Linked DNA regions of Homo sapiens: region 2 is linked to region 1. Evidence: promoter capture Hi-C in 16 types of primary human blood cells and fetal thymus (Javierre and others, 2016). All regions are on one chromosome and are shown on one strand. The core of a region is centred on a gene start or on the middle of the fragment in contact, and the rest is flanking DNA. Distances in the headings are between cores, read along the strand shown. Region 1 holds the start of CAPN11 (calpain 11). Region 2 overlaps AARS2 (alanyl-tRNA synthetase 2, mitochondrial).

Region 1 (3,291 bases), core at 724-3,223:
TGCAGTTGACAGCGGGTAACTGAAACTGCGTGGAAAGCAGGGGCTGCTGCATGTTAAAAGGCATGAATGGACAGGAAGCTTTCTGCTGCAGCTGCACATCCTGTCTCCTCCATCAGACTGAGAACCTACAGATCATTTTGTTGTTGTTGTTGTTGTTGTTTTTTGAGGTTTTTTTTGAGGCGGAGTCTCACTCTGTCGCCCAGGCTGGAGTGCAGTGGAGCGATCTTGGCTCACTGCAAGCTCCACCTTCTGGGTTCACGCTATTCTCCTGCCTCAGCCTCCCGAGTAGCTGGGACTACAGGCGCCCGCCACCACGCCTGGCTTATTTTTTGTATTTTTAGTAGAGACAGGGTTTCACCGCGTTAGCCAAGATGGTCCCGATCTCCTGACTTCGTGATCTGCCCGCCACGGCCTCCCAAAGTGCTGGGATTACAGGCGTGAGCCACTGCGCCCGGCCAGATCGTTTTTAACTAAATCAGTTTTATTTTATTGACAAAAAAAGTATATATCTGTTGTATACGACATGGTGTTTTGAAATATGTATTCACTGTGGAATGGCTCAGTTGAGCTAATTAATATCTGCATTACTGCACATACTTGTTATTTGTTTGTGGTGAGAACACTTAAAATCTACTGTCAGTGATTTTCTTTTTTTTTTGAGATGGAGTCTCGCTGTGTCGCCCAGGCTTGGGGTGCGGTGGCACGATCTCGGCTCACTGCAACCTCCACTTGCTGGGTTCAAGAGATTCTCCTGCCTCAGCCTCCCGAGTAGCTGGGATTACAGGCGCCCGCCACCACGCATGGCTAATTTTTGTATTTTAGTAGAGACACGGTTTCACTATGTTGGCCAGGCTGGTCTCGAACTCCTGACCTCAGATGATCCACCTGCCTTGGCCTCCCAGAGTGCTAGGATTACAGGCGTGAACCACTGTGCCTGGCCTCTCTCAGTGATTTTCTAAATGCAATACATTGTTATTAGGGGACTATAGATTTAAGGACAGTTTGATTTCCGGCACTGGGAAAAAACTAAGATGTTGTGTCAGGGAACTTTAAAAAAAAATAAATACTAATAAGTAATAATAATAAATAAATAAATTATATTTTGAGATGAGGTCTTGCTATGCTGACCAGGCTGGTCTTGAACTCCTGGGCTCAGGGCACTTCTGAAGAACAAGGACTGGGTTTGGGGTCACCAGCTAGGCCTAAACTTCCTAGGGTCAGGTAAACAGGGAGGGCCTGAGAAGCTGGGAGGCTGGGTCTAGGGGCCCATGGTCTCACGGTGCCCCAGGCTGAGGGTGAGGTACAGGGCTGACCTTCTGCTGGCCAAGGCTGGCTGCCCTCTGTGCACCCTAGCCCCACAGGAACAACTCAGTTCTGCCCAGCCCTCCCCTTCCCCCCAGCCCACTCTCCCCCATCTCCTGGAGTCTGGTCCCAGGCTTGCCTCAGGTAGTCCTGCCCCTGCCACCCTGAGGATCTCATCTTCCTGGGCTGAGGGACCTGCTTTTCTAGGCTTAGGAGAGGTTCTCTCTGTTCCCTAAAGTTTTCTTCTCTACGTGGGCTTTTTCACACAAACCCTTTTCCCCAGCAGCCATGACAGTGGGATGGCCGGCCCCTCTCCTCTCCCCAACTCCAACTGTCAGTGGAGAGGAGAAAGAGTTCCTGCCCGGCCTACCACCCAGTCTGACCACCAGTGGCCTATCCTTCCCCAAACAGTCTGAGAACGAGGCCCAGGTCCTGTCCTTAGGGAGCATCCAGTCTGATGGAAGAGTCACTCTCTGTACCCTCAAGGGGCATCCAGTCTGATGGAAGAGTCACTCTCTGTACCCTCAAGGGGCACCCAGTCTGATGCGGGACACAGCTCCTCCCCTGGGGGGAGGCTCTAGCCTGCAGGAGGTACAGGAGTGGGGCAAGGCCCCATGAGTGCCTACCTGGGGAGTACAGCATGCTGGTGGCTAGCTCGGTGCTTGACAGTTGAAGGTTCTGGTGGGAGGGGGAGAAGAGACCCTCCCCCCAGAACTCTCTCATTGCAGTGGGATTCCTAGGTCAGCAGCCGGTTTAACAGCTGCCTTCCCTTTTCTCCTTCTCAGTAACCCAGCCCCTTACCCAGCTGAGGGCTACCCGCTTTAGGGACAGATGACCCAGCACCCCTGCCTTGCACAGCCTCCACCAGCCTGGCTGTCCTCACTGTATCACGGTCATCCCATCAGGGTAGGTCCCAGTCCCTTTTTTTCAGCCCAAGGTTTCCAGGAAGGGGTTGTCCCTGACACACCAACCTGACCTTTACATCCAGAAAGCCTTCTCATTCCCAAAAGCCCCTTTCTCACTGACATGGCATTTTTCCTGTGTTGCTGTCTTCACATGGCACCCTCCTCTGTGTCTCTTCTTCTTATAAGGACACCAGTCATATGGGGCTAGGGTCCCATGCATTTCAGTATGACCTCATCTTAATTGAACGAATTACATCTGCAACCACCCTGTTTCCAAATGAGGTCACATTCTGAAGTACTGGGGGCCAGGACTTCAACATGCCTTTTTGGGGGACACGATTCCACCTGCAACACTCTCCTTGCCTAGCCCCAGTCTGGCAAGGTTAGGCCACTGGTCTGACCACATGTCCTGCCTCTGCACTGGAAAGTGGGAATGCTTTGAGCTAAGAACTCTGCTCCAGAGTGCAGTCTTCTCTGGAGTGTATGATGGCTGAGGACAGGGACTGTCAAGGTCATCCCAGTGCCCCTCAGCCCTGCCTGGTGCTAATCAGGCACAGAACAGGTGTGAGAGCACCCAATGGGATCAGAGAACCTTGTTCCAAGCTCTGAAACAGGAGCTGACCTTGGGCGAGCCCTCCCCCTTTCTCCTTTCTGGGACTCAATCTCCTCATCTACGAGAATATTAATTATGGTTTGTTATTATGTGCCAAACACTGGGCTAAGAACTTCCTACTTATTTAATCCTTAAAACAGCCAGAGGCCATGACATTGCTATTCCCATTTTATAGATGAGGAAAGTGAGGTCTAGAGGTATGATGCAACTTGCCCAGGGTCACACAGCTGTTAAGCGGTCGAGCCAGGATTTAAACTAATAACTTCAGATTTTTTTTTTTTTTTTTTTTTTTGAGATGGAGTCTCGCTCTTTTGCCCAGGCTGGAGTGAAGTGGTGCAATCTCAGCTCACTGCAACCTCTGCCCCCCGGGTTCAAGCGATTCTCCTGCCTCAGCCTCTCAAGTAGCTGGGATTACAGGTGCCCACCACCATGCCCAGCTAATTTTTGTATTTTTAGTAGAGACGGGGTTTC
Region 2 (2,965 bases), core at 369-2,868, 150 kb before region 1:
CCCAGCGGCATGTGGACACAGGAATGGGCCTGGAAAGGCTGGTGGCTGTGCTGCAAGGCAAACACTCCACCTATGACACTGACCTCTTTTCCCCGCTGCTCAACGCCATACAGCAGGTGAGTGCCTCTTCCCTTCCAGAAGCCCTCTAACCTGCTCTTCACAGCCCTCAGCCCCATTGCATTCCATCTTTGTTGAGAACTCAGAGTGTTCTCAGCATCTGAGGACAATAACCAACCAAGAATTCCAAGACGTCAAGCAAGACACTAGGATTCATTACTTATTACCTGATGTTCCTCCTAACTCCTTGCCTCTTTCATTTATTTAGAAAATACGTGTTGAGTGCTTACTTTATGTTAAATCCTTTGTGTTTGGTACAGAAGACACAGCAGTAAGCAGGAAAGAGATCATGGAGATTATATGCTAGCATGAGAGATAGACAATCAATAAATGTGTTAAAGAACAAGGTAATAGCTTACAGATTGTGAACAGGCAGTAAACATGGGTGAAAGTAACTAGGAAGAAGGAGGGGTACAGAGGAATCTTAGATAAGGTGCTTGGGGAAGGCTCACCAAGAAGATGACCTTTGAGCTGAGCCCCAAAGGAGGAGTCAGCTACAGGAAGTTCTTTCCAGGCAGAGGGGACAGCAGGTACCAAGGGCCTTGGTACTGATGGATTAGATGGGGAGGGGAAAGAGAAATCAAAGATGGCTCCCAGGCTATTGGCTTGAGCAACACAGTGAATGGCATGACTGTTTACTGAGATGAAGAAGCTTGGGGAAGAGAGAGGTTTGGAGCTAGGTGAATCAAGCTCCCTGCTTTGGAGCATTTCCACATGTGTGTAGCTTATACCCTCCCTCCTTGCCCCGCAAGAAAGGGCTTGACATGTGCCAAAAACTAAAAGGTGGCCAGCCAGCTAAAGGAGAATCCCATGGGATATAGTAGGAACATGTGTCAGTTGGCTTTTGCTGTATAACCACCCTAATGCTCTGTGGCTTAACCAACAACCATGTATCTGCCCCCTGAGTCTGTGAGCTAGCGTTTAGGCTGGGCTTAGCTGGCTCATTCTTTGGTCTTGTGTGAGCTCATTCATCCATCTGTGGTGAGCTGAGAGGCCGCAGCTCCTCTGGGGCTTGGCTGGCTGTCAGTTTGGGGGCAGTAGGGGTGACTGGACCATGTGTCTGTCATCACCTAGCTGGCTAGTCTGGGCTTGTCCACATCACAGCTCAGCAAGGTTCCAAGACAGAGAGCAGACACATAGGCTCAGAACAGTGTTGTTTCCACTGTATTCTATGGGCCAAAGCAAGTCACAAAGCCAGCAGAGATTCAGGGGATGGAGAAATGGATTCTGTCCCTTGATGGGAAACAGCTGTAAAGTCCCATTTTAAAGTGGCATATGCCTAGGAAAGGGCCATTTTTGTGAACAGTCTCACAGAGAAGAAGGCAGAATCCAGTCTTGTGGGCCTCAAAGTCCAAAGTGGGGCCTTGATTCTCAGAGTGGTGAGAAGAGTTCTCAGGGCTGGGCACGGTGGCTCACTCCTGTAATCCCAGCACTTGGGGAGGCAGAGGGGGGCGGATCGCTTGAGGTCAGGAGTTGGAGACCAGCCTGGCCAACATGGCAAAATCCTGTCTCTACTAAAAAAATAGAAAAATCAGCCAGGCATGGTGGCACACACCTGTAGTCCCAGCCACTTGGGAGGCTGAGGCAGGAGAATCTCTTGAACCCAGGAGGTGGAGGTTGCAGTAAGCTGAGATCGTGCTACTGCACTCTAACCTGGGCAACAGAGTGAGAGTTCATCTCAAAAAAAATAAATAAATAAAAGTGTACATCAGATCATGCCACACTCCCCACTGAGAACCCTTCTTTTTTTTTTTTGAGACAGAGTCTTGCTTGCTCTGTTGTCCAGGCTGGAGTGCAGTGGCATGATCTCGGCTCACTGCAACCTCTGCCTCCGGGGCTCAAGCAATTCTCGTGCCTCAGCCTCCAGAGTAGCTGGGATTACAGGCACCCGCCAACACACCTGACTAATTTTTGTATTTTTAGTACAGATGGGGTTTCACCAGGATTGGCCAGGCTGGTCTCAAACTCCTGACCTCAGGTGATCCACCCGCCTCAGCCTCCCAAAGTGTTGAGATTACAGGTGTGAGCCACCGCGCCCAGCCTGATGTACACTTTTAAAAGGCTACTCCTGTTGCTGTGTGGAGGATGAGCTGGAGGGAGATGAGAGCAGAAACTTAGGAATCAGTTGGGAGGCTATTATCGGTCCAGGCAAGGACCACAGGGCATGCTTCGGATAATAGCAGTGGAAGTAGAGACAAGTAGATTGATTTGAGAGATGTCATGGAGGTAGGAGCAAAAGGAACCACTGATGGATCATGACGGGTAGGGGAAAAAGAATTCAAAGATGGCTCCCAGGCTATTGACTTGAGCAACACAGTGAATGGCATGACTGTTAGACGAAGAAGCTTGGGGAAGAGAGAGGTTTGGTGGTAAGTGAATCAAGCTCCCTGCTTTGGAGCATTTCCGTGTATGTAGCTTACACTCTCCCTCCCTGCCCACCCCCACAAAAGATGGGAGAGGCAAGAACAGGTAGTGGAGAGCACCTGGAGTCCAACAGGCCCGGCTGAGATCTCAGATCTGCTCCTTGAGAGCTGGGTAGCCTTGTGTCACTGAGTTCCTCTGAGCCTCAGCTTCTTCTTCTTTAAAGCAAGCATGCTAATACCTCCTGGAATGGGCTGTTTTGGGGATTCGAGGCCATGTTGTTCAAGTACTCACCCAGTTCTGATAGTAGAAATTCAGTAAATGGTCACAGATATGTTCACTTGTAGCACCAAATATGAGCCCCGTGAGGGCAGGGCCTGGCTTGTGCTCATCTGTGAGGCTTCTCAGCCCAGGACTGGACTGGCAAGGCCATTCTGGATGTGGTTGGCTTTAGGGCTGAGGGCAGATGCTCTAGAGGCGATAAAGA

Evidence for each region. The method cuts DNA at HindIII sites, captures the fragments that hold promoters and counts their contacts. A CHiCAGO score of 5 or more calls a contact.
Region 2: a contact is called between a fragment that was not itself captured here and the fragment with the promoter of CAPN11 in region 1, in 1 of 17 cell types (naive B cells). The highest score is 6.5, in naive B cells.

Annotation. Positions count from the first base shown.
Region 1 is chr6:44,157,502-44,160,792 of GRCh38, reverse strand. It overlaps CAPN11 (calpain 11), which reads right to left and starts at 1,973. Exons shown (of 23, transcript NM_007058.4): 1 at 1,929-1,973. The coding sequence starts at 1,944. LOC107986599 (a long non-coding RNA gene) reads left to right here and starts at 2,190. Exons shown (of 3, transcript XR_002956350.2): 1 at 2,190-2,208. RefSeq lists an enhancer at 627-796. The HindIII fragment of the contact is 9,288 bases long and covers 81-3,291 here.
Region 2 is chr6:44,307,450-44,310,414 of GRCh38, reverse strand. AARS2 (alanyl-tRNA synthetase 2, mitochondrial) reads left to right here. Exons shown (of 22, transcript NM_020745.4): 5 at 1-116. The region is part of intron 2 of LOC124901322 (a long non-coding RNA gene); the gene reads right to left. Among named protein-coding and RNA genes, the nearest start is that of AARS2, 4.4 kb to the left of the region's middle. The HindIII fragment of the contact is 1,693 bases long and covers 772-2,464 here.